Linked DNA regions of Homo sapiens: all the other regions are linked to region 2. The links are contacts of gene promoters, found by promoter capture Hi-C in blood cells and fetal thymus (Javierre and others, 2016). All regions are on one chromosome and are shown on one strand. Each heading gives the region's core, a stretch centred on a gene start or on the middle of the fragment in contact. The rest is flanking DNA. Distances are from core to core; before and after follow the strand shown. Region 1 overlaps TMPRSS4 (transmembrane serine protease 4). Region 2 holds the start of FXYD6-AS1 (FXYD6 antisense RNA 1). Region 3 overlaps SCN4B (sodium voltage-gated channel beta subunit 4). Region 4 overlaps TMPRSS4 (transmembrane serine protease 4).

Evidence for each region. Contacts are between HindIII fragments. The CHiCAGO score rates a contact against its expected background, and 5 or more counts as called.
Region 1: a contact is called between a fragment that was not itself captured here and the fragment with the promoter of FXYD6-AS1 in region 2, in 2 of 17 cell types (non-activated CD4 T cells and naive B cells). The highest score is 6.2, in non-activated CD4 T cells.
Region 3: a contact is called between a fragment that was not itself captured here and the fragment with the promoter of FXYD6-AS1 in region 2, in 10 of 17 cell types (naive B cells, M0 macrophages, M1 macrophages and 7 more). The highest score is 7.8, in naive B cells.
Region 4: a fragment that was not itself captured here is called in contact with the fragment with the promoter of FXYD6-AS1 in region 2 in 2 of 17 cell types (total CD8 T cells and naive CD8 T cells); the score reaches 6.4 in total CD8 T cells.

The regions. Positions count from the first base shown.
Region 1 is chr11:118,092,300-118,098,847 of GRCh38, reverse strand. It overlaps TMPRSS4 (transmembrane serine protease 4), which reads right to left. Exons shown (of 13, transcript NM_019894.4): 2 at 3,993-4,032. LOC105369517 (a long non-coding RNA gene) reads left to right here. Exons shown (of 4, transcript XR_007062904.1): 2 at 402-489; 3 at 3,577-3,699; 4 at 6,314-6,548. Among named protein-coding and RNA genes, the nearest start is that of SMIM35, 8.6 kb to the right of the region's middle. The HindIII fragment of the contact is 494 bases long and covers 2,515-3,008 here.
Region 2 is chr11:117,831,309-117,838,235 of GRCh38, reverse strand. FXYD6-AS1 (FXYD6 antisense RNA 1) reads right to left here and starts at 4,518. Exons shown (of 3, transcript NR_186291.1): 1 at 4,175-4,518; 2 at 1,734-1,967; 3 at 1-1,068. All of the region lies in intron 6 of FXYD6-FXYD2 (FXYD6-FXYD2 readthrough), which reads left to right. FXYD6 (FXYD domain containing ion transport regulator 6) reads left to right here. Exons shown (of 8, transcript NM_022003.4): 8 at 1-1,255. The HindIII fragment of the contact is 9,424 bases long and covers 3,273-6,927 here.
Region 3 is chr11:118,137,404-118,140,816 of GRCh38, reverse strand. The region is part of intron 4 of SCN4B (sodium voltage-gated channel beta subunit 4); the gene reads left to right. Among named protein-coding and RNA genes, the nearest start is that of SCN4B, 14 kb to the left of the region's middle. The HindIII fragment of the contact is 851 bases long and covers 1,181-2,031 here.
Region 4 is chr11:118,114,770-118,121,010 of GRCh38, reverse strand. It overlaps TMPRSS4 (transmembrane serine protease 4), which reads right to left. Exons shown (of 13, transcript NM_019894.4): 10 at 6,084-6,182; 11 at 5,731-5,873; 12 at 3,557-3,706; 13 at 1-3,109. The coding sequence ends at 3,098. Among named protein-coding and RNA genes, the nearest start is that of SMIM35, 31 kb to the right of the region's middle. The HindIII fragment of the contact is 2,433 bases long and covers 2,003-4,435 here.

The DNA.
Region 1 (6,548 bases), core at 1,512-4,011, 260 kb before region 2:
ATTCCTGCAGACTAGGCTTAGCTTCAACAGCACGTGGTTACCCTGCCTCTTCTTACTTATCCAGGCTCACCTATCTTTCCTGAGTGCCGCTCAAAGGAGCCCCCAGGTCAGGCCACCTCCCCCGTGTCTTGCCTGAGCCTGTCCTAGGACATTTCTGGGTTTTGTCTGACCCTCGCCTGCCCGAGAGAGGCCTGAGCCCCTGGGGCACGTACCCATTCACTGTGCCACCATTTATCCTTTTCCTGACCTCCTGACTTAGCTTTTGATTAAACATTAAGCATCAGGGAGGCAGGGGCCTCCAGCACAGTGTGTGCTTAGTAGAGGCTTAATAAATACTTGTGAATCAATGCATCCTCAATCCCACAAACAGCAAGTCCCTAGCCTGGTCCTTGTCTTTAAAGAGATTACCATCTGGGGGAAGAGGCAGACACAGATGCCAGCCCAGCCAGGTGGAAGATAATATATGTTATAATAGAGACATCTTCAAAGGTAAGCTGGTGAAAGCCTCCCTCAGCAGGTGGCACTTAAATGCAGTTTGGGAGGGAGGCACTGGCTCAGCTCTGTCGGAGGCACGGAGGGTGCCTGTAGGCTGCCTGGTGTGCCTGGGGTACCAGGGGAATAAAGGCAAGTTGGAAGGCAGGATGGGTGAAGGCAGCTGTGGAGACTCTTGAACATTATGCTAAGGAGCCTGGGTTTTATCCTGAAGGCAGTGAGGAGCCATTGAAAGTTTTTGAACAGTGGAGAGACAGGATCAAATTAATTTTAGGAAGATGGATCTGGTCCAGTGCGGTGGCTCACGCCTGTAATCCCAGCACTTTGGGAGGCCGAGGTGGGTGGATCACCTGAGGTCAGGAGTTCAAGACCAGCCTGGCCAACATGGTGAAACCCTGTCTCTACTAAACATACAAAAATTAGCCAGCATGGTGGTGCATGCCTGTAATCCCAGCTACTTGGAAGACGGAGGCAGGAGAATCACTTGAACCCAGGAGACGGAGGTTGCAGTGAGCTGAGATTGTGCCATTGTACTACAGCCTGGGCGACAAGAGCAAGACTCCACCTCAAAAAACAAAAAGAAAGATGGATCTTTCATCAGGGAGGAGGTGGATTGGAACAAAAGAGTCTGGGGTTAGGGAGACCAGGTAGGAGCTTATCACTGCCTAGAACAGAGGTGATAATAACTACATTGTCAATTGCACATGGTTATCCAAGGAGAAGGAACCTGGGAAAGGGAAAACATAGGCAAAGTTAATATCAGTAAGTATCAGAGATACATTCTTTTAAGTCCCCCACTCCTTGTGGGAAATAAGCTGGGGAGGTGCCATGGGGACTTCTGCCCTGGGGGAGATGGGGCAAGAATTCTGGAAACCCTGGAAAGCAACGGACCGGCTCTCCTACCCTCACCTCCACATGACTGGCTCCCTGTCCTCCTCCCAGTCTTTCTTCACTGTCACCTTCACAGTGAGGCCTTCCTGGATCTCCCTATTTAAAATGCAGCCTTCCAACCTTTCCTATCCTCCTTTCTTGCTTTTTTTTTCTTCCAAAGCACGCATCACCTCTAACAAACTCTATATTTGACTTATTTTGTATATTTTCTGTCTCCTCCCGCCCCTCCATGAAATGAAGACTCGTTGAAGACAGAACTTGTCTGTTTTGTTCACTGCTAAGTCCCTGGTGCCTAGAACAGTGCTTGGTCCACAGCAATTGCTCAACAAATATTTGTCACCTGAACAGATGAATTGTTCTTGGCTCTGCTCTCTTAAGTACGTCCCTTCTACTACCTCCTTTCCTTTCCTTTCCTTTCCTTTCTTTCCTTTTCTTTCTTTCTTTCTTTCTTTCTTTCTTTCTTTCTTTCTTTCTTTCTTTCTTTCTTTCTTTCTTTCCTTTCTTTCTTTCCTTCCTTTCTTTCTTTCTCTTTCTTTCTTTCCTTTCTCTCTCCCTTTCTTTCTTTCTTTCTTTCTTTCTTTCTTTCTTTCTTTCTTTCTTTCTTTCTTTCTTTCTTTCCTTCTTTCCTTCTTTCTTTCTCTCTTTCTTTCTTTTTTCTCTCCTCTCTCTCTCCCTTTCATTCATGGAATCTGCTGCCCAGGCTGGAGTGCAGTGGCAGTGGCATGATCTTGGTTCACTGCAACTTCCACCTCCTGGGCTCAAGCCATCCTTTTACCTTATCCTCCCAAGTAGCTGGGACTACAGGCATGTGCCACAACACCCAGTTAACGTTGGTATTTTTTGTAGAGATGGGGTTTTGCCATGTTACCCAGACAGGTCTCAAACTCCTGGGCTCAAGTGATCCACCCCCACCTTGGCCTCCCAAAGTTCTAGGATTACTGGCATAAGCCACCATGCCCGGCCCCTTCTACCTTTCTTACAGGTCACATTTTATTCTGCCTTGAATGATGGCTAATCATATGTCTGACTCTATTTCTTTCCTCAGCTCTTCCAAAGTGGAGAATGGCATCCTGCTAGAGATTGGCGCCCAATGAATGCTAGTATTAATGAATCTGTTAACAAAGGAAAGCTTAGGACACTTTGTGTTTCCCCAAAAGAATGTTTTAACTTCAGACACAGAGGCCACGCAGTGGGGATGTGGACTGGAATGGTATTGCCTGTGAACTATGACCTGGCACAAAGTAGCTTATCAGTAATGTTTGCCAATACTGTTTTTAAAGTTCCAGCAGCCAGTCTTCAGAATTGTCCTCTTTCCTGTGGCCATGGCCATGATGACATTTTGTTCATGAATTCATGCATGATTTATTTATTGAGCATCTACCTCTGGGAACATGAGATTTGTTTGTTTTCTCCAAGAGTGAGTGACCCATGGGGAGCCATGGGTTCCTGTGTCCAAGACCAGACATTCTCAGGGAGCATCTGCTTCCCCCATCAGGAAGGAACGAGCTTTCATACCTAGTTTAAGTTAACGAACCCAGTGAGCTATGAACAGCCTCCTTGCCGGCTGTTGTTCCTCCCTCCAGCCTGTCCTGCCCACTGCAGCTAGACAGAGCTTCCTAAAAGCTTGCTTTCATCCTGTCACTTCTTACTCGAGGGCCTACAAGAGACTTCCACATCTGGATTATATCTTTCAAAGCCAGTGTAATTTGGCCTCTTTCTCTGAGCCAAATGGACTTCCACTGCTAGTCTTCACCAACCCCAGTTCTGCATAGTCACGTTCACTCCCTGGTCCTCGAGCAAATTCAGCTTGTTTTCTGGTTTGAGAGTTCTCAGGCTTGCTCAGGTGGCGGAGCAGTTGGCACCCTGGTGTTCCTTGGGGACACCATGGCCTACTCTTATATTGAATTCCAAAGTATAAACTAGGCACCATTTTACTTGCTAAAGATTACTTCATTTGTGGTCATTATTAACTCATGACCCAGAACTGAGAAATACATAGCCCGTCAAGCAGGATTGGCCATTTTCTTACTGATCTGTTCATATTAACGTGTTCCTTGCTCATTTGTTTTGCTGATCCAGTAGGCTATCAGGAGTAGATATTAATGGTTTAAGAAAATGTAATGGAAGAAAAATACCTCCTTAAATTTGGGATCATTCTATTTATTAACTTAGTTTTCTTCCCTTGGAAATCAGGCAAGCACTGCCATTTTTCATGAAAATGCCTCTGGCCAATGTGAACTCCATGACACCAGGGACTTCAGCTGTCTTAATTAGTGTTATAGCCCAGCATCCAGCCTAGGGCCTGGCACATGGCAGGTACGTACAGTTTTACTGAAAGGATAAGAGTGACTGAATGAATGAATTGGAGAATCATTGCTTTGGGGATTTTAGGTTTGTTGGTCCTGTTTCCCCAGAGTCCAGGCCTCCTACTTCTGGAATGAATCCTGGAATGTTTGCTGAGTGATGGATGGACGGGTGACTGGATGTCACTCATGGCACTTAGCACTTTGGTGGTGGTGGTGAGGGCCAGGCGCGAGTGGCTTAGGATCTACTTGGTAGCTGAAACTCAGAGGCTAAGGTGGACGAATGAAAGCCGGACCTGAACTTACCGAGGCTGTTCAGAGGTTGATCACTGTCAGGATCCTGTAATTGAAGGAAAAACAGTCAGTGAGTTGAGGCAGGGAGCCTCTCAGGCTGGGGCTAGCAGCCTACGGGAGGTTCTTGGGTCTTGTCTACATTCCCTTCTCCCTGAGTCTACGTTGGGGGTCTCTGTGTTATCCAAATACCTGGTTCAACAGGAAACATTCAGTCATGCACCTGTTTGATCTGTTTCAATTAGTTTACTTATTAGTTTACTTAACTAGTAGCAACTGGTTAGCAATTGTAGAAGCAACTGGCTGCTGGTTTTTGTGTAAATTGCTGAATTCCTCAAGATGATTCTGCTCTACTATCTGTTTTTGTCAATAATTTGTCTATGTTTACAGATACTATATTTCTGTAAAAACTCTGAATAGACATCTTACAAAAAGGAATACTCAACTGGCCAATAAGTACCAAACAATGCTTAATATCATTACTTATCAGGCAAATGCAAATTCAAACCACAATAAAATTTCTCTACATAAATACTAAATGGCTAAAATTTAAAAGACTAATAATACTGTGTTGATGATGATGTGGAGCAACAAGACCTCTCAGACCTTGTTGGTGGGAGTGTAAAGTGGTACAAATACTTTGGAAAATGGTTTGGCTGAATCCACTAATGCTAAACGTACAAGTATTTTATGATTCTCTGACCCAGCAATTGTGCTCCAGGATAGAGCCAAGAGAAATGAGTACAAATGTCCAGCAAAAAACCTGTGTGTGAAAGTTTATAGTCGCTTCATTAGTAATAGCTAAACATTGGAAAAACCCAAACGTCAGTCACTGGTAGAGTGGATAAACTGGTATTTTCATATAATAGAATATAATTCAGCAATAGACAAGAATAAACATTCTCAGTGCAATGACATGGATGAATTCCATGGACATAATGATGAAGGGAAGAAAATAGTCACAAAAAGTACGATTTCACTTATATAAAGTTTAAAAGGCAAGGTTAATCTATAGTGATAGAAGTCAGAATAGTGGTTACCATTGGGGGGGGCAGTTAGTTATTGGAAGGAACACAGTGGAGTCTTCTGGAACATAGGAAAACTTCTGGATCTTGTTTTCAACATTGGTTACATAGGTGTTTATATGTGCAAAAATTCACTGGGTGGTAGACTTTAGACTTGAGTACTTTACTACATATGTGCTATCAACATTATGATATTTCTGAGAGAGTGGTCTTAGGCTGCCGTCGACGCATGTGCACAAATACACGCAAAGGCATTTCTATTTACACCACTTCATGTGTGCACTCAGCACGCACACAGCCACAGAGTCACATGGAGGAGCCACTGACACAAAGGCTCACATACAAAAAAATGCAGGCCCTTTCTGCCAGGCAAAGGTTAAAAGGAGCATGCTGTCTGGGTTTATGCCCTCTGAACCCTGTGGTCTAGGTCTCCACCCAGGGACTCGCCTGCCCTATTGTGCTGAGGTCATGACCCACCTTGGTGGTGGTTGAAGGAGTCACAGGACCTTGTACATTTCTGGCTGGAAATTTTTTCTGTTCCTCTTGGGAGTGAGAGGGCCTCTTTTAATCCCTGAGTGGGTGACCCAGATTAGATATGGAGGGAGGGTCCCTGGGTGTTGCTTGCTCCACGGCTAAGCACGGTGGACACAGCAATAGGAAGGAGCTCTTTCGTTCCCTCCCAAACGAGCCTGTAGTCTGATGGAGGGACATGCCTGGCCTTGCCCTTGGGTAACACTAGGCCATGGGTGGCCTTGTGATGTAGCACACAGCCTGGTTCTGCAGTCTGCAGGGGTCGAGTCAGAATACAAGACCGGCCTCCTATTAACTGTGTGCTTTCAGGAAAGATCCTTCACCTCTCTGAGCTCCAGGCTTACCCTCTGTAGAGTGGGGACAATAAAACCTGCTTCAAAAGACTACTGTGAGGTTTACATGAGTTGTCTGGTGGGAAATGCTGGGCTCTCACATGGGAACTCTCTTTCCTCTGCCCTCCCATTGAAACTGCCTTGGCAAAATGATGACTGAGACAGTGAAAGAGATCTAACTTAGCGACTCCATCTTGCTTCTAACCTCCAAACTGTCCTTGTTCATTCCTAGGGGTAGGCAGAACTAACTTTGGGAGAAACTTAGTTTATAGTTTAAACAAAGTTGGTAACAGCTCTTTCCCAGAGCAGACTGCCTTCTTGTCTGGGGACTAGACTAACGTTAGCCCCAAGATTAGAAATTATGGTTTAGGAGTCATGCAGCTGGAGGTTACAAGATTCTGACCCTCCCCAAACTGCTTCTAAGATCAGGGCTTGAGATATTTTGCAGACCCTGCACCTGACGGATCAGCTGGCACCACCCAGATCAATAAACTGCCTCATCTGATCTGGCGGCCCCCGCCCAGGAACTGACTGAGCGCAAGAAGACAGCTCCAACTCTATATGATTTCATCCCTGACCAATCAGCATTCCTGGCTCACTGGCTTCCCCCCACCCACCAAGTTATCCTTAAAAACTCTGCTCCCTGAATGCTTGGGGAGATTGATTTGAGTACTAATAAAACT
Region 2 (6,927 bases), core at 3,269-5,768:
TGTCGATGCTTAAGAAAACCGGCCACTTCAGCAACAGCCCTTTCCCCAGGAGAAGCCAAGAACTTGTGTGTCCCCCACCCTATCCCCTCTAACACCATTCCTCCACCTGATGATGCAACTAACACTTGCCTCCCCACTGCAGCCTGCGGTCCTGCCCACCTCCCGTGATGTGTGTGTGTGTGTGTGTGTGTGTGACTGTGTGTGTTTGCTAACTGTGGTCTTTGTGGCTACTTGTTTGTGGATGGTATTGTGTTTGTTAGTGAACTGTGGACTCGCTTTCCCAGGCAGGGGCTGAGCCACATGGCCATCTGCTCCTCCCTGCCCCCGTGGCCCTCCATCACCTTCTGCTCCTAGGAGGCTGCTTGTTGCCCGAGACCAGCCCCCTCCCCTGATTTAGGGATGCGTAGGGTAAGAGCACGGGCAGTGGTCTTCAGTCGTCTTGGGACCTGGGAAGGTTTGCAGCACTTTGTCATCATTCTTCATGGACTCCTTTCACTCCTTTAACAAAAACCTTGCTTCCTTATCCCACCTGATCCCAGTCTGAAGGTCTCTTAGCAACTGGAGATACAAAGCAAGGAGCTGGTGAGCCCAGCGTTGACGTCAGGCAGGCTATGCCCTTCCGTGGTTAATTTCTTCCCAGGGGCTTCCACGAGGAGTCCCCATCTGCCCCGCCCCTTCACAGAGCGCCCGGGGATTCCAGGCCCAGGGCTTCTACTCTGCCCCTGGGGAATGTGTCCCCTGCATATCTTCTCAGCAATAACTCCATGGGCTCTGGGACCCTACCCCTTCCAACCTTCCCTGCTTCTGAGACTTCAATCTACAGCCCAGCTCATCCAGATGCAGACTACAGTCCCTGCAATTGGGTCTCTGGCAGGCAATAGTTGAAGGACTCCTGTTCCGTTGGGGCCAGCACACCGGGATGGATGGAGGGAGAGCAGAGGCCTTTGCTTCTCTGCCTACGTCCCCTTAGATGGGCAGCAGAGGCAACTCCCGCATCCTTTGCTCTGCCTGTCAGTGGTCAGAGCGGTGAGCGAGGTGGGTTGGAGACTCAGCAGGCTCCGTGCAGCCCTTGGGAACAGTGAGAGGTTGAAGGTCATAACGAGAGTGGGAACTCAACCCAGATCCCGCCCCTCCTGTCCTCTGTGTTCCCGCGGAAACCAACCAAACCGTGCGCTGTGACCCATTGCTGTTCTCTGTATCGTGATCTATCCTCAACAACAACAGAAAAAAGGAATAAAATATCCTTTGTTTCCTAGTGGCTCGGAGGTGCTTTCCTTTCTGTGAAAGAACTTGAGTGTTTGTAGGGTCTGTGGAACTTAAAGGGCTAGAGGGAGTCCGTCCATGGTCAGAGGGAAGAGGAAGGACTGGATAGCCACCCAGGCAGGCACAGAGCCCCGTCAGCTGCTGTCACTGTTGCCTCCTCCCCGCTTCTCTTCCCTCCTTTCCTTTTCTTCCTTCACTTTCCTCTCCTCCTGCTCAGCCCTTCGTCCCGCACCTTCCCGCCATTTCTATTCCTCCCTCCCTCTCTCCCGCCTTCCCAGGCCACTGGGCTCAAGCCACATCCCATAGCAGGACCTGTACATTGCACACTGTCTTGGAGCAAAAAAGGGAGTCACAATGGCTTCTCCAAGTACTCAGTGGCCTGGAGTAAAACATCCTAACATTTCTCTTTGGTCAGTTCTGGGGCCACTACCTAAGGACTTGTAAAGAGAGCCAGGGGTGGTGACTCATACCTGTAATTCCAGCAACTTGGGAGCCTAAAGCAGGAGAATTGCTTGAGGCCAGGAGTTCAAGACCAGCTGGGCAACATGGTGAAATCTTAGCTGGGCATGGTGGCTCGCACCTGTTGTCACAGCTACTCGGCAGGCTGAGGCAGGAGGATTGCTTGAACCCTGGAGTTCCAGGTTGCAGTGAACCGTGATTGCACCACTGCACTCCAGCCTGGGCAACAGAATGAGACCTTGTCTCTAAAAAGAAAAAAGGAAGGAAGGGATCAAGGGAGTGACAGGGTGGGTGACGTGGATTGTGAAATACCCCTCCTCTGTGGAGCCTCCCTGGGCATTAGGTAGAATCGAATCCCTTTTTTTTTTTTTTTTTTTTTTTGAGATGGAGTTTTGCTCTTGTCGCCCAGGCTGGAGTGCAGTGGCGTTATCTTGGCCCACTGCAACCTCTGCCTTCTGAGTTCAAGCGATTCTCCTGCCTCAGCCTCCTGAGCAGCTGAGATTACAGGTGCCTTCCACCATACCCGGCTAATTTTTATATTTTTAGTAGAGACGGGATTTCTTCATGTTGTCCAAGCTGGTCTCGAACTTTTGGCCTCAAGTGATCTGCCTGCCTCAGCCTCCCAAATTGTTGGGATTAGAGGCGTGAGCCACAGCGCCCAGCCGAATCCCTTTCTTGTGCCCCAATCACACTTGTTTGCTGCCTTTATATTCACACTTCATACTTGGCATCCAGACTGTAGAGACCAGGCAGGTAATGCCAATATGTGAATCTGCTGGAGTGACGATGGGGCATGGCACCTGCAGTCACCTACGGTGTCCTCCCAAAGACACTCTGACTCAACTTTCTAAAAACCACTGTTGGCCAAACCAACACAGATGTGGGCAGATTCTGCGTGGAGGTTGCCTGTGTGCAGCTTCTGCCTCTAGTGTTTTGTGTCTTTATTGATACAATTCCTGGAGGGCAAGGACTGTGCCTGCTCTACAGAAGCCTGGAACATCTTAGGGTCTTGAAAAAAGAATCGACCCCTGGAACGTCTTAATATCTTCCATCTTGAAGCCAGCACTTAAGGAGCGGGACCCTCTGGGCCCACCTCCTTCCAGCCCCAACTTCTAAGACCCCAGTGAACCTGGCACCTGAAGCTATAGCAGGAGACAGAAGTCAGTGCTCCTTGTGGTTTCGATGGGCCTGGGAACCACCACCTTCCCTGCCCAGTGGCCACACAGGCCCTGAGTCCGCCTGGATTCCGCAAGTTGTTTAGAACCGAAGAACCGCACAGATCCGCTTGCTCGGTGCCTTCTCTACGTGTGCTCTTGCTTCTGCCTTCGGTCCCCCAGGCCTTTGGAAAGACACAGGCTTATGGTAGAGCTCAAGCTCAACCTGTCAACCCAGTGATCATGGCGATTAAAAACTATCTGGTCACAGCAAGACCTGGTAAATGAGCTTATTGTTCGGGAACACTCGTGATACATCAGGGAATTGACAGGCCTTGCAGAAATTTCATAGCGAGGCCAGGCTGAGATCCCTAGAGGCCCTAGACATGCAAAGCTTTGTGTGTGCCGCCCCCCATACGTTAGTAAAAACAGAACATTATACTTCGACATAGGAATAAGGAAGTCCAATGAGGAGGTTCTAATTTTTCTCATAATAATTATGTTAAGAGTAAGGAATGATGGTCAGCATCTCTAGCACATCATCTACAAATGGTTATCCTTACTTTGCCCGCCTCTAAGCACTCACTTAGTTTTCCTCCTAGTAATCCAGCTATATTCTGAGATTGGTCAGAGATACAATCGTCCTGGTCCAGGTTACACAGCTGGGGGATGGAGGAGCTAGGACTTGACCCCGGGCTGTCTGTCCATAGTGCTTGTCAGCACATGGCCTAGCCTCCTTCAGCAGGCAGATGCTCAGAAGAAGGGACAGTGATCAGATGGCTCCCAAGACTGCACCTGGAGCATGGCTGCCCCTTCAAGACATAAACTAGCTGGACCATGCTCCAAGGAGCCTCCTGTGGGAGTCTAATGGTCTGGAAACAAGACACATGAAGAACAATCGAAGAAATGATGGTCAAAATGGTAATAATTAAAAAAAATGAGCAGCTGAAGTTTATGGAGCACTTACTATGTGCTTGTTTGAGGACTTCACACAGATGAGCTGGATCAGAACTCAGAGTGCTATATATCTCCATGAGGAGGACCAGGAGTGTCCACTCAGCCTCCAGGCATGTGGCACTGGTTTGTAGCTGTGATTTGGTTTAATGAGGCAATGTAGCTTGACTGAATAAGAAGGACAGCTGCCATGCTGTGTCATTTCCCAGAAGGGAATCCCAAGTTCCCTGTCTCAGTAACCTCAGGTGTCCCACACCTTTTGCCTCCCAGTGACTCCCTCCACCCCCCATTCCATTTCGAAGATCTCCATGTCTCTTTGCCTGGAGGTTTTCTGCGTTACTTACCCCTGCTGTAGGAATAGGTCAGTCTGCCTTCTGGGACCCCAGGTGCTGTGGCCCTCCTACCTCTCTGTTTTTTGTTTTTTGTTTTTTTTTTGCAAGATGTAGATTAGAACTTGCCAAATTGTTCTTGGAAGAGAGTCAGAGGCAGAGTACAAGCTGTAGGGAGCGGTGTGAGGGGAGTGCCAGGCGAAGCACACTCCAAGGTCACCGGGCTGTTGGCCCCTTCCTCTGGGAGGAGGGCCTTACCTTGCTTGGAATCATGGGCTTGGCGGGGAGGCTGGGCAAAGCAGGGGTGGGAGAGCACTCCAGCTCTGTCTGGTTCACCCCACCTTGTTCCTGGCTGCTCTGCCTCACCCTGGGCCCAGCGAGAGAAAGGTCAGGTGTGTTTGCCTGAGCCAGGGGAGGAGCTTTGGAAAAACCTGTCTCCAGGCCACAGAGAAGGAATGGCCACCTCTCTCCATTAGTGTGATTTATTGCTGTCACAGCTGAGCTCCAGGGGGGCAGACTCAGCCGGCTCAAGCCAACCAGCTGTTGATCTGATGGGGCCAGCCCAGCCCCGGGCCTGGTTGCACAACAGTGGGGCACCTGCCAAGGCAATGATGGCAGAGCAGGTGATGCTGTGATCGCATGTCCTGAAGGACCTGGATGGCAGGGACTGGAGGGGGTGGGCCCCCCTGCACTATCCAGAAGAACGGTTTCCTACCTCTGAGCTGGGCTTGGAGGCAGTCTGGTAGAGCCTGAGGCTCAGAACATCCCCGAGGTCCCTTCTGCTCTAACAGTGTGAGCTTGGAAAGACCCCAGCCTCTCTGTCAGTTTCCTTTTCTGAATAATCAAGTCCTTCCTAGCTTTGGGGTAAGCTGGGCCTCCTGCTCACTGTGTAACCCTGGAAAAGCCACTTAAGCCTCAGTTTCATCACCTATAAAATAAATGCATCAAGATGTTTTCTGTTATCTCACAGGGTCAAAGTGATACAATGGACATCGAAGCACCGTGACAATTCTCCATGTAGCCATTATGCTATAAATGTTGGCATCACTATCCATTTCCTTGTCTCCTCATTCTCTGATGGCCGGGTTCCTCTTGTCTCTGTTAGACTTGGGTTCATGTTCTGACCTGTTTGCAGACCACCTGCAGTGTCCTCTGTAAAATGGGCATCTCACAGCCTGCCTGGCTGAATTGTTGGGAGGCTCTAAGCAGCTCTTTGGAACCACTGAGACCCTGGAATAGGGTGGAATTGCTGCCAAGTGTGGAGAGTGGGCACCAGGCTCAGTGCAGGTACAAACGTTTAACAGCTTACCCGACCTGAGGCCTCAAGGAGGCCAGGGACTTGGCAATCTGTGCTATAAATGAAGAGAATGGTGACACGGCCACATGCTGGCCATTCAAGCCATGTCAGTGGCATCCGGAAGGTGGTGGAGGGAAGGTAAGAGTAACCAGGGGTGGGCTTGCTCCGCGAGGTCTTCCCGGAGGTGGCGAGCCTCTCCCAGAGGTGAGAGGGAGTTTGGTTACTGGGAGGAGAAAACCAAGAAAAGCTGGAGAGGAATGGGCTCTGTTGTGGTTCAAGCCTGGATGTGAGTTCTGAGAACAGTCAAGAATGCATTTCTCTCCAAGGCATTCACTGTGGGGGAGGTGGGTCAAATGGGTTTGCCCTTGTCACCAGCTGGTGACCTTGACTCTCAGAGTACATTGCCCTTTGGCAGTTCTCAGAACCTCTGTGCACCATGGCTCAGGCCTTCTTGAAGCCAACACTTAAGGAATGGACCCTCTGGGGCCCACCTCCTTCCAGCCCTGCCTTATAAGACCCCAGGGACCTGGCACCTGCAACCATAGCAGGAGGCAGGAGCCAGCGTTCCTCAGGATTCAGGACCTCTGAGTGGGACAAATGGGGCTTGGGAACTGCCACTTTCCCTGCCCAGTGGCCATACGGGTTATGCAGCTGAGGACTGACTTGGGCCTGGGGTCATGGCTTTCTAGGTGCTTCTGGCTTCTGCTTCATTGGAGCCCCTTTCCAGCTGCAAGCCAACACCAGGAGGAACTGATCTGGGGACCTGGAGTTCAAGGCTGTAAACTCCCACAAAGGCCAGAGCTGGCGGAGCTGGAGAACCCCATTCTGGGAAGCTGGTGGTGAGGGCCTCTGCCTTTGATCACCAGGAAAACAGAGGTCAGCTGGATTCCAGCCTATTTCCTCCCTGCCCCACCAACCCAGCAACGACCACCCCAAATGACTGCCCTGAGACTTAGGAGTCAGGAGACAAAAGGGAGGCCTGCCTAGGGGAGACAGGGGAGATGGAGGCCTCGCCACTGAGGGCACGGTCCCATCAGCTGTGACAGTGCTGACGCATCCAGGAGTGGGCACTGCCTCTACCTCCCAACATCTCCCAGAGCTCTGGGTCTTGCAGAGAACAGGAGAGCACAGCTGGATGCTCCTTTGTCTCCATCCTGGAACCATTAGACAAAGGAGGTTTCTTGGTTTTGTGTGGAGAAGAAAGGGAGGCTGGAGATGCAGGGTGAGTTGTGGCCAGCAGGATCATACCAGGGCAGGGTGCTCCCAGAGGCCTGCTTTAGAGATCACCGCAACTGGGGACTGAGCCAAGGGAAGGGATTGCTGTGAGTGTTCTTGTCTCCTGGGGGGCTCAGTTCGGAGTAAGGAAAACACAGCCATCAGTTTTTAGGACCTTCTCTGGCCAAACGCTTGACCTACCTTGCCTCTGTTCCCACAACAATACTGCAAGGTAGGTGTTATTACCCTATTTTAC
Region 3 (3,413 bases), core at 357-2,856, 310 kb before region 2:
ATGAGAAAACTCTTCTAGGGAGATGGGAACAAAATTCTTCTGTTAGGAATTTCTGAAAATTCAGATGGAGGTGATGTTTTAAAAGTTTGAAAAGGCAGATATGGCCTCCCAGGGAGCCCTAGGATAAGTTCAGGTATAAAAATAGACATCTATAAGGGGAAGGGGAGGGAAGATGGGGGAGGTACGGAGGGTGCAACCCTCAGGCCCCAAATTTTTGGAACAGTATCAGACAGGCTCCAGAGCAGCATGTGGTGAATCTTGCAAAACTAGAGCAGGGAAAAGGCATTTGAAAGTTGTGTTCTGAGCAAGACAGATGCGACGAGATGGCTTCCCATTGGAACAGAGAGGGTGATGGTAACCACGAGATGCAGAGAATGGAGAACTCCTCTGCCCCTATTTGCTGAAACATTCTGCTCTGCTGAGAAGAGGGAATTCTGCTGTAAAGGGCAGAACTTACTCTAGAAAGAGGGGATGGAAGTTGGAGGTAGGGAGGGGCCATACAGGTAGCAGCGCTGGGGCTGGGGAGCAGGGGAGGACCCCAGAACTGGGTTGTCGATGAAGAGCTCAAGGGTTGTCTGCCTGCCTTGTGGCCAGAGGCTGTGAGGGTTTTGGTGATCGTGAGAGGGGCTAAAAGCGTGGAGCTTAATTAGGTTCTGTTTTTCATAACCAGTCTTACTATCAATGGATGGAGAACAAATTTGTCAATATATGGTTTAAAAGCACTTAGAAAAGACAACGGTGGTCCTTCAGAGCCACAGTGGGTTCATCAAAAACAAGACATGCTAAGCTGGATGTGTGTGCCTGAAGTCCCAGCTCCCTGGGGGGCTGAGGCAGGAGGATGCTTTGAGCCCAGGAGTTTGAGTCCAGCCTGGGCAACTTAGCAAGAGCTCGTCTCTTAAAAAAAAAAAGAAAAAAGAAAAAAAAAAAAGGAATGCTAGATGTCTCCTGATAAGGCACTGGCAGAACAGGAGATTGCTCTGGAAAATACCACTTCCTGTCATTCATCAAATGCCTACCATATGTTAGGAATTCCACCAGGCAATTTTATACACTACCCATAATTATTATTTTACAATTGAGCAAAGTGAGGCTCAGAGTAGTGAAGTGACTTGCCCAAGGCCACACAGCTAGTAAGTGATAGAGCTGGGATTTGAACTGTGACTAATTTGGCTTCAAAGCTTAAACCATTGCCAGGATGTTCTACTGACTCACTGGGCATATCTAGAGTTCATTCATTTATCTGTTCATTTTGTGGCTGTTTTTGAGGCACTGTGCCAGATGCTATAGGAAATTATGGAAGGAATGAGATTCTGCCTTTAACTAAAGAAGACAAGATACAAATAAATGTGTATACAAATAAATGTAATACAAGGTAGAGGGGATCAGTGCCAGCAAAGAGGTTTGATACGATGCTGCTGTGGGGGTTCAGGGCAGGGTGAAATTCTGGGAAGGATTTCTGGCTGAATGGGTGTTTGTGGCAGGCCTTGCAAGATTAATATAACTTAAGCCCTGGGGAGAGTAAAGGGAAGATTCTTCCAGATGGAGGCACCACTGAGAGCCAAGGCAGAGAGTCTGGGAAGTGGGCTTGTCTGGAGAACAAGCCTTTTGTTTGTTGAGAGAGCTGTATGGTGAGGTGGTGGGGAGGAGAATAAAAGCCTGCAGAAGGGGTTGGGGACAGACACTTGGGGACCTGGGAGTCGAGGCTGTGATTGACTTCCGACGGCAGGGGAGCTGGCGAGGGCTTGCAGGGCCCTGGCACGATCAGAGAGCACAGAAGAAAGGATCTGGCCATGGTGGGCGGAGGGATTGGGTGGAAGAGCCTGGGGGCAGGGGACAGACCGTAGGGAAGCCTGAGGGAGGTCCTTGGAGTGGCGGGGAATGCCTGCATTACAGCAGAGACAGTGGCTTCTCAAGAACAGGGAGGTACTGGACAACATCTCACCATTGATTCTGAAACGTGGGTGCTGTTTCCTCTGTCTGGAATTTACCCTCTCTCTTTTCCTGCTCATCTTTCTTGGTTTCAAAGAAGCTTGGAAGTTTAAGGTATACTTCCAAAAAGCTTCCCTGACTCCTATGAGGAGGCTTCCTAGGTTGGGTCCCTCCTTCCTACATCCCCCATCCTGTTATTTACCACAGTGTGTCACAATCACTTGTTTAATGTCACATGCCCTAGGAGAGTGCACGTTTCCGACACAGTGCCTGGTACCCAGTAGGTTCTCAGTAGAGAATTATGGACTGCGTGGAATACAGTTCGGTGGGTCGTAATTGGCTGGGTTAACTATGCCTTAGGTACAGAGACAGAAAGAAAGAAAGAGAGAGAGACAGAGAGAGAGAGATGGATCCATCCGAATAGAGGTCTTTAGTGTATTCCACAGGGCTCCACCTGTTCATTGTTATTACTAACATTTGAAGTACACTAGGGATGTCACATTTATCAACTTCCAGAAGCCTAGTAACTATGTTGGAAGAAAAAGGGATCTAGGAAGATCTTGATAGGCTGGAGCTAGGAACTAGGTATTGCAAGATGAAATTAATGAGGACAAAATATTCAGTCCTTCCCAAAGGCCTCAAACCCAGCTGCCCAAGCCCAGGGTGAGGGTAGGATGTAGTTTGGCTGTAGCAGCTGTGAAAAACTTGGCCATTTTCATGAGCAGAAAGCTCAGAGGGATGCAGGTGCTCCCTGGGGAGTTCTGTGTGCCCAGCCTGGGCGCTGCTGTGGAGGAGGGACACACTGAAGTTGGAGCATGTCCAGCTCAGAGCGGTCAGGGTGGAACGCCTCCCGGGAGGTGTCTTCCCATCTCACCATCTCTCCTTCCTCCTGTCTTCTGCTCCGTCCCACCAAACTCTGCCTAGACCTGTCACCCTTGAAGCCAAACCCACTGCCTGCTCTGCCCCTTCCATGGACTCTGTTCTTCCCTTAATACCTCTAGTCACGGAGAGCTCAGGGAGGAAGGCCTGGGGGGCCCTGGGGAGAGGGACTCTGTGTCCTCAGCATACTCCTTGCTGGCCTGGACCCCTCCCCCTGGCGTGGCACAGCCTGGGAACTGACCCCTGAGAACAGCACCTGGTGCCCTTTGCTTCCTGCCATGTTGAGACAACTAGGTGACAGCTAAGCTTTATTGAGAACTTTCTTTTTTTCTTTGTTTGAGACAGAGTCTCGCTCTGTTGCCCAGGCTGGAGTGCAGTGGCACGATCTCAGCTCACTGCAACCTCCGCCTCCCAGGTTCAAGCGATTCTCCTGCCTCAGCCTCCCTAGTAGCTGGGACTATAGGCGCCTGCCACCACGCCTGGCTAATTTTTGTATTTTTAGTAGAGATGGGGTTTTGCCATGTTGGCCAGGCTGGTCTCGAACTCCTGACCTCAAGTGATCTGCCTGCCTCGGCCTCCCAAAGTGCTGGGATTACAGGTGTGAG
Region 4 (6,241 bases), core at 1,970-4,469, 280 kb before region 2:
GGGTGGTCTGGGTTTTCTCTCTGCTGCTATAAGGAGTTTCTTTTTGTCTTTGGTGTTCTGCAGTTTCATTATAATGTACATAGGTGTGGATTTATTCTAATTTTTCCACCTTGGTTGTATGCGTGTACACTATGGTGGTGTATGTTCTGTGGATTCACACCTTTTATCAATTCTGGAACATTCTCAGCTCTTATCTCTTTGGTACTGTCTCTCTCTCATTGTCTTGATTCTCTCTTTCTGGGATTCTGGATATGTTAGAATTTACCATTCTAGGCTTCATTGCTCCTGGCCTTGTTTTCATATTTTTAATCTCCTTATCTCTCTCTGCTGTTAAGCCTAGTCACTTCTTCAATTTATCTTCCAGTTCATTTGTTCTCTCTTAATTGGTGTTTTAATTGTTATTTACCCCATCCACTTAGTTTTTTATTTTTATAATTATAGTTTTTATTTCTAAAAGCTGTATTCAGTTCTTTTTCAAATCTGCCTGTTATTTTTGCTTGATTATTAAGATATCCATTTTTAACAGAAAATAGCAAGTGTTAGGGGGGATATGGAGAAATAGTAACTCCTGCAAACTGTTGATGGGAATGTAAAATGGTGCAGTCTCTATGGAAAGCAATATATCAGTTCCTCAAAAAATTCAAAATAGAATTACCATATGATCCAGCAATTCCACTTCTGGGAATATACCCAAGAGAATTGAAAGCAGGGCCTCAAAGAGATACTTGTACACCCATGTTCACAGCAGCATAATTCACAATAGCCAAAAGATAGAAGTAACCTGAATGTTCGTATAAACAATAGAATATTATTTAGTCTAAAAAGGGAAGAAATTCTGACACATGCTACAACATGGGTGAAACTTGAAGACACAATGTGAAGTGAAATAAAACAAGTACAAAAAGACCAATACTGCATGACTTCACTTAAATGAGGTACCCAGAGTAATCCAGTTCACAGAGACTGAAAGCACAATGGTGGTTGCCAGAGATTGGGAGGAGGGGGAAATGGAGAGTTGTTTGATGGGTACTGAGTTTCTGTTCTGGAGATGGATGGTGGTGATGACTGCACAATAGTGTGAATGTACATAACACCACTGAACTATACACCTAAAAATGGTGAAGATGGCAACTTGTGTTATGTGCATTTGACCACAGTTAAACATGATTTTAAAATGTGGAACTAGTATTCATTTTTTATTCAAATATTTTATAAATTATCATATTGGAGGCCCTATAGTGTGGTAGTTTACAGCATGAACTCTGTATTCCAAGTGCTCACGTTCAACTTACAGTCTATAATCTCAGGCAAGGAGCTTAACCACTTTGTGCCTTAGTTTTTTTAATCCATAGAGTGAGGATAAGAATAATACCCATCTCACAGATTTCTGTGAGTATTAAATGAATCAGTACATGATGAAGCACTTACAATAGTGTCTGGCACATACAAATACTCTGCAAATATTGCTTATTATCATAAGTCTCTAATATTCTGACATCTGAAGCCTTTGGGGTTCTAAATTAGCTGTTTTTTATGCTGCCCACTTAAGGTGTTTTTTATTTTTCAACGTCTCTGATCTTTGATTGTGAGCTCATATTTGGAGGATCTTTGGGAATCCTGAGGCTCTAAATTTGGGAAATTTTCCTCCAGACCATCTGCAATTTGAGACCACATTTACTGCCATCAGTTATCCCTGCTTCATGTAGGAGCCCTGGTTCAGCTCCCTTGTCTTCAGTGTGTCCAGGTTTAGCTCCACTGCCAGCCTTCATATAGGTCTCGACCCAAGATTTTAGTGTATTGCTCCCAGATCATCACCTTAGTTTCCACTCACAGTTCTGATGGTTTTGTTTTATTTTGTTTTGTTTTCTGGGTTTCTATTTTCTTTGTTTTTGGCATTTGAGGAATTCTGTTGTTTCCTAAGAACCTAGTACAGTATGAACAAGTATATTTCATCTAGGATCTGACTTAACTATAGCAAGACAGTCCTCAGAAAACCCAAGCTTTCATACAGATGCCAAAAAAGTCCATGGGGTTTAATTCTTTGACCATTTTGAGTGCAGGGACTTATTCATGCTTACATCCTCACAACTCAGCTTGGGGACTGCCTCACACCTGGCAGCTGATCCTTTTTGTTTTTTAAATGTAAGAAGCCACACTGAGGGCTCTCCAGGCGGAAAAAGTTAGGACACAGGACCAGCATTTCTTTCCAGCCACTTGTGGATCCCTGATTGAATGTCACCCTTGACTGCCTAACTCATCTCTTTCCCAAGTCATAGGTTATCCCTGGCTCCTGGCTGATTATCACAGGCAGGGAGGGAGGGAAAGAGGCAAAGGGAGAAGGCCCTGTGTGGGACTCAAACTTGCTCACCCTGGTTTCTGTAATCTGCAGCTCACTCTTGCTGCCACTCAGCAGATCTGGTCTCCCTAACTCTTTTTTCCCCTGCCTCTACTTTGAGACTCAATTGCTTCCCCAGGACTTCTTTTCTCCCCAAGCCAAAGAATGAAAGTTCAATCATCCCAGCTCAGTTCTTATCAAGCATTCCAGCTAGCCTATGCCAGAGATGTTACACAGCTCTTTAATAATAGTGGCCATAGCTGTAATAACAATGACAACAGTAGGTAACGGTAGTCATACCAACAGTAGGGCAGTGCATTTTATATTACAACTGGTTTCTTGCTCTAGTAGGCTTGGGGATGGGTGAAGACGGACAGGGCTGGCGCAGACCCTTTCCTTCTCCTCTCCAGCCCACAGTGATCTGGGCTTTTACAAGACAGCCTGCTTCCATTCAGTAGTGTGGGAAAGTTCCTTCTTGGCTTAGCAATACCCCTGAGACCTTGTTCAGTGGGCTGTGTCTCTCCCTGGGATGCTGGGAGCACCAAGTGTGGCCGAGCTAGGGCTGCTGACTTCCTCTGGGCGCCTCTGGGCTGCGAGGGTCTCTTATAGGAATTGAGGCCCTTTGCTGCTCCAAGAAATGCTGAGGCTGTGGGCAGAGGGGTGTACCCAAGGGGACTCTTGCTCTGTGTCTGACTTTGGGGGATCCCCAGGTGGGCAGGGCAGGAAGGAAGCGGCTCCCAGCACTGCAAAGGGGCAGCAGCATTACAGCTCAGCCTAGAATAAGAGAGACCGATGAAGAGAAAGTCAGATTATCTGAAACTGGACAAAGTGGTGACATGTGTAACGTGAGTCTTCCTTTTCTGAAACACTTTGCTTCTCTCCCTACCCTGCAGAGGGCCAGGAGGTCTCATGAGCCTTTCCACTCTCTTCCTTATCAGAATCTTCTCTCTAGAAAGGATCTGATAGTCTCATTCTGTCAGAAAAGAGAAAGAAAGGCTTGGTGTGTTCTATTCCCTAAGGTATTTGCATTTATCAGAAATCTCTGACCTAAGGAATTTCAGCCTTAATAGTGCAATCTCAGGCTGTCCCTTGCTTGGAGGGAAAGTTATTTGGGATGTAAAGAGTTGTCAGAACCATTTAAATCAAACCTGAGGATGGATTGGCACCCCCCAGGTAGAGGACTGGAGGGAAGGCACAGTGGGTAGGGCAAAGGTACCTTACCTTCCAGACATTGTAGATCCAGTTGAGATAGGCTGAGACCTTGGTGTATACTCCTGGGGTGCTCGGGCCCCCGCAGCCATAGCCCCAACTAACGATGCCCACCACATGCCACTGGTCAGATTGGTACATCAGGGGCCCACCACTGTCACCCTGTGAGAGACCAGAACAGAGACTGCTGGGGAGGGCAGGTGAGGTGGGGGGGCTTCTCCTTCTCTGCTCCCTGAACTGGCCTATCTGTTCCCCTGCACTCCCTGCTGCTCTCCGATATTCCACCCTCACCCTCTTTGCTCATTAGCACCCTAGAATGGTCTTCTCTTCTGGGGCAGAAAGGCTTGTCTGTGGACAAGTAAGTTGCAAGCATGCCGTTAGCCTTCTCTCAGAGATTCACAACTCACATTAGCAAATTAAAGGCTCTGAGTGATGTCTTAAAAAAGCCTGGTTGTTGGCCAGGAGCGGTGGCTCACACCTGTAATCCCAGCACCTTGGGAGGCTGAGGCGGGTGAATCACTTGAGGTCAGGAGTTCAAGACCAGCCTGGCCAACATGGTGAAACCCGTCTCTACTACAAATACAAAAATTAGCTGGGCATAGTGGCAGGCACCTGTAATCCCAGCTACTCAGGAGGCTGAGGTGGAGAATCATTCGAACCCAGAGGCGGAGGCTGCAGTGAGCCGAGATCAAACCACTTCACTCTAGCCTGGGCAACAGAGTGAGACTCAGTCTCAAAAAAAAAAAAAAAAGCCTGGTTATCATTGTTTAACCTAGTCGTTCCAAAATTTGTGTAATCACTTATAGAGTGCCTATTTTGTGCCAGGTAGTGTTCTAAGCAATTGGGATCCAACTGATGAAAAAAAACAAAGATCCCTGCCCTCAGAAAGCTTAGGATCAAATGGGGTGAGAGACAGTGAACAAGCAAATAACAAAACAAGAAAATGCCAGATAGTGAAAAGTGCACTTATCTGGGAGTCCTTATCAGCTGTTTTAGCCCCTGGGGCTTCCTCCCTCTGAACCCAAAACTATAGCTTAAATGTCTGTTTAATGCCCCCCTTTCCCCCAACCACTGTGAGCTCCCTGAGGGGTCTCCAAAGACTACCATGTTCATGGCACACATGCGATGACTAAGAGATGCCTCTTAAATGAAGGAATTTAATGACTGGAAATGGAGGTGAGAGTAGGGTAGGGGTTTTAATGAAAATGGTTCAGGCCAAGCACGATGGCTCATGCCTGTAATCCCAGCATTTTGGAAAGCTGAGGTGGGAGAATCCCTTGAACCCAGGAGTTTGAGACCAGACTGGGCAACATAGTGACCCTGTCTCTGTTAAAAAACATAAAAGAAAAAATAAAAAAAGAAAATAGTTCAGAAGATCCTCTGGAAGTATGGGGGAGGAAGAAGGTCTACAGGGATTGCTAAGCAGTCCTGATGGCCAATGAGGCCGGGGTGAGGGCACACACAGATGTGCTTCCAGCATTCTGCAGGCGGTAATTCTTTCCTAGTGTAGTTCAGCAGCTTGGGGAGAGTCACAGAGAAAATAGACCTGGGATTCCTGACCTCAAGGGGCTAATCATTCTGTAGCTAGTGAGAAGGGTGGGTGGGGTGGATGAGTAATGTCATCTTTGTTGTTGTTGTTGTTTTCAGATGGAGTCTTGCTGGGTCACCCAGGCTGGAGTGCAGTGGCGCAATCTCAGCTTACTGCAACCTCTGCCTCCTGGGTTCAAGCAATTCTCCTGCCTCAGCCTCCCAAGTAGCTGGGATTACAGGCACGTGCCACCACGCCCAGCTAATTTTTGTATTCTTTTTAGTAGAGATGGGATTTCACCATGTTGGCCAGGCTGGTCTTGAATTCCTGACCTCAAATCACCTGCCCGCCTCAGCCTCCCAAAGTGCTGGGATTACAAGCGTGAGCCACCATGCCAGGCCAGTAACATCATCTTCGAATGTGAAAGAGACATTTGAAATCTCTCTGCTTGTCTGCATCCATCCATCCACCCACTCATCTATTGGTACACTTTTATCTGACTATCCTTTCCTTCCCTCCCTCTCTTCCTCCCATCATCACACATTGAGTGCCCATGATATGCAAGGCTTCCTGTAGGGCATGCAGCCTCTGGGTTTTCTCATCTCTCTAGGACCTAAACCCTATTCTTAGAACTCCCCATGATTCTTGGAGGCCCCACCTGGCAGGTGTCCACACCCCCTTCCGGGATGCCTGCACACATCATCTTCTCGGTGACTTCCCCCTGGTACGCATCGTCTGCATTGCACCGTGTGCTGTCAATGACCTGGACTGACGCCTGCAGCAGTATGTCAGACATCTTCCCTGGGAGGGTAAAAACACTCACATTCCCATCCTTGCCTTCTATCCCCCAGCCCTGGATTGCCAAACCACTTTGCTTTCTGCCTGGCGCCTTGGTGCTTGGTCCTCCAGGATGGGTTTCTCTGAAGGGTGGTCCTCCTTCCCATTACTTCTGGAAGCTGCTCCCTCATACAAGGGCATCTCCTGCCCTGTGGTCCTGCACCCAGGACTTACCTCCATTCTGCTTCGTAAAGCCCCATCCAATGATCCAGAGTGGGGTGGCTGGAGTGAGCTCCTCATCAAAGAAGGGCAGACAGATGGGCCTGACTGTGCCTGCCAGGAGCACAGAGGAAGAAGGAGATCTTTTATTCATCATAAGTGTTAATTTTCTG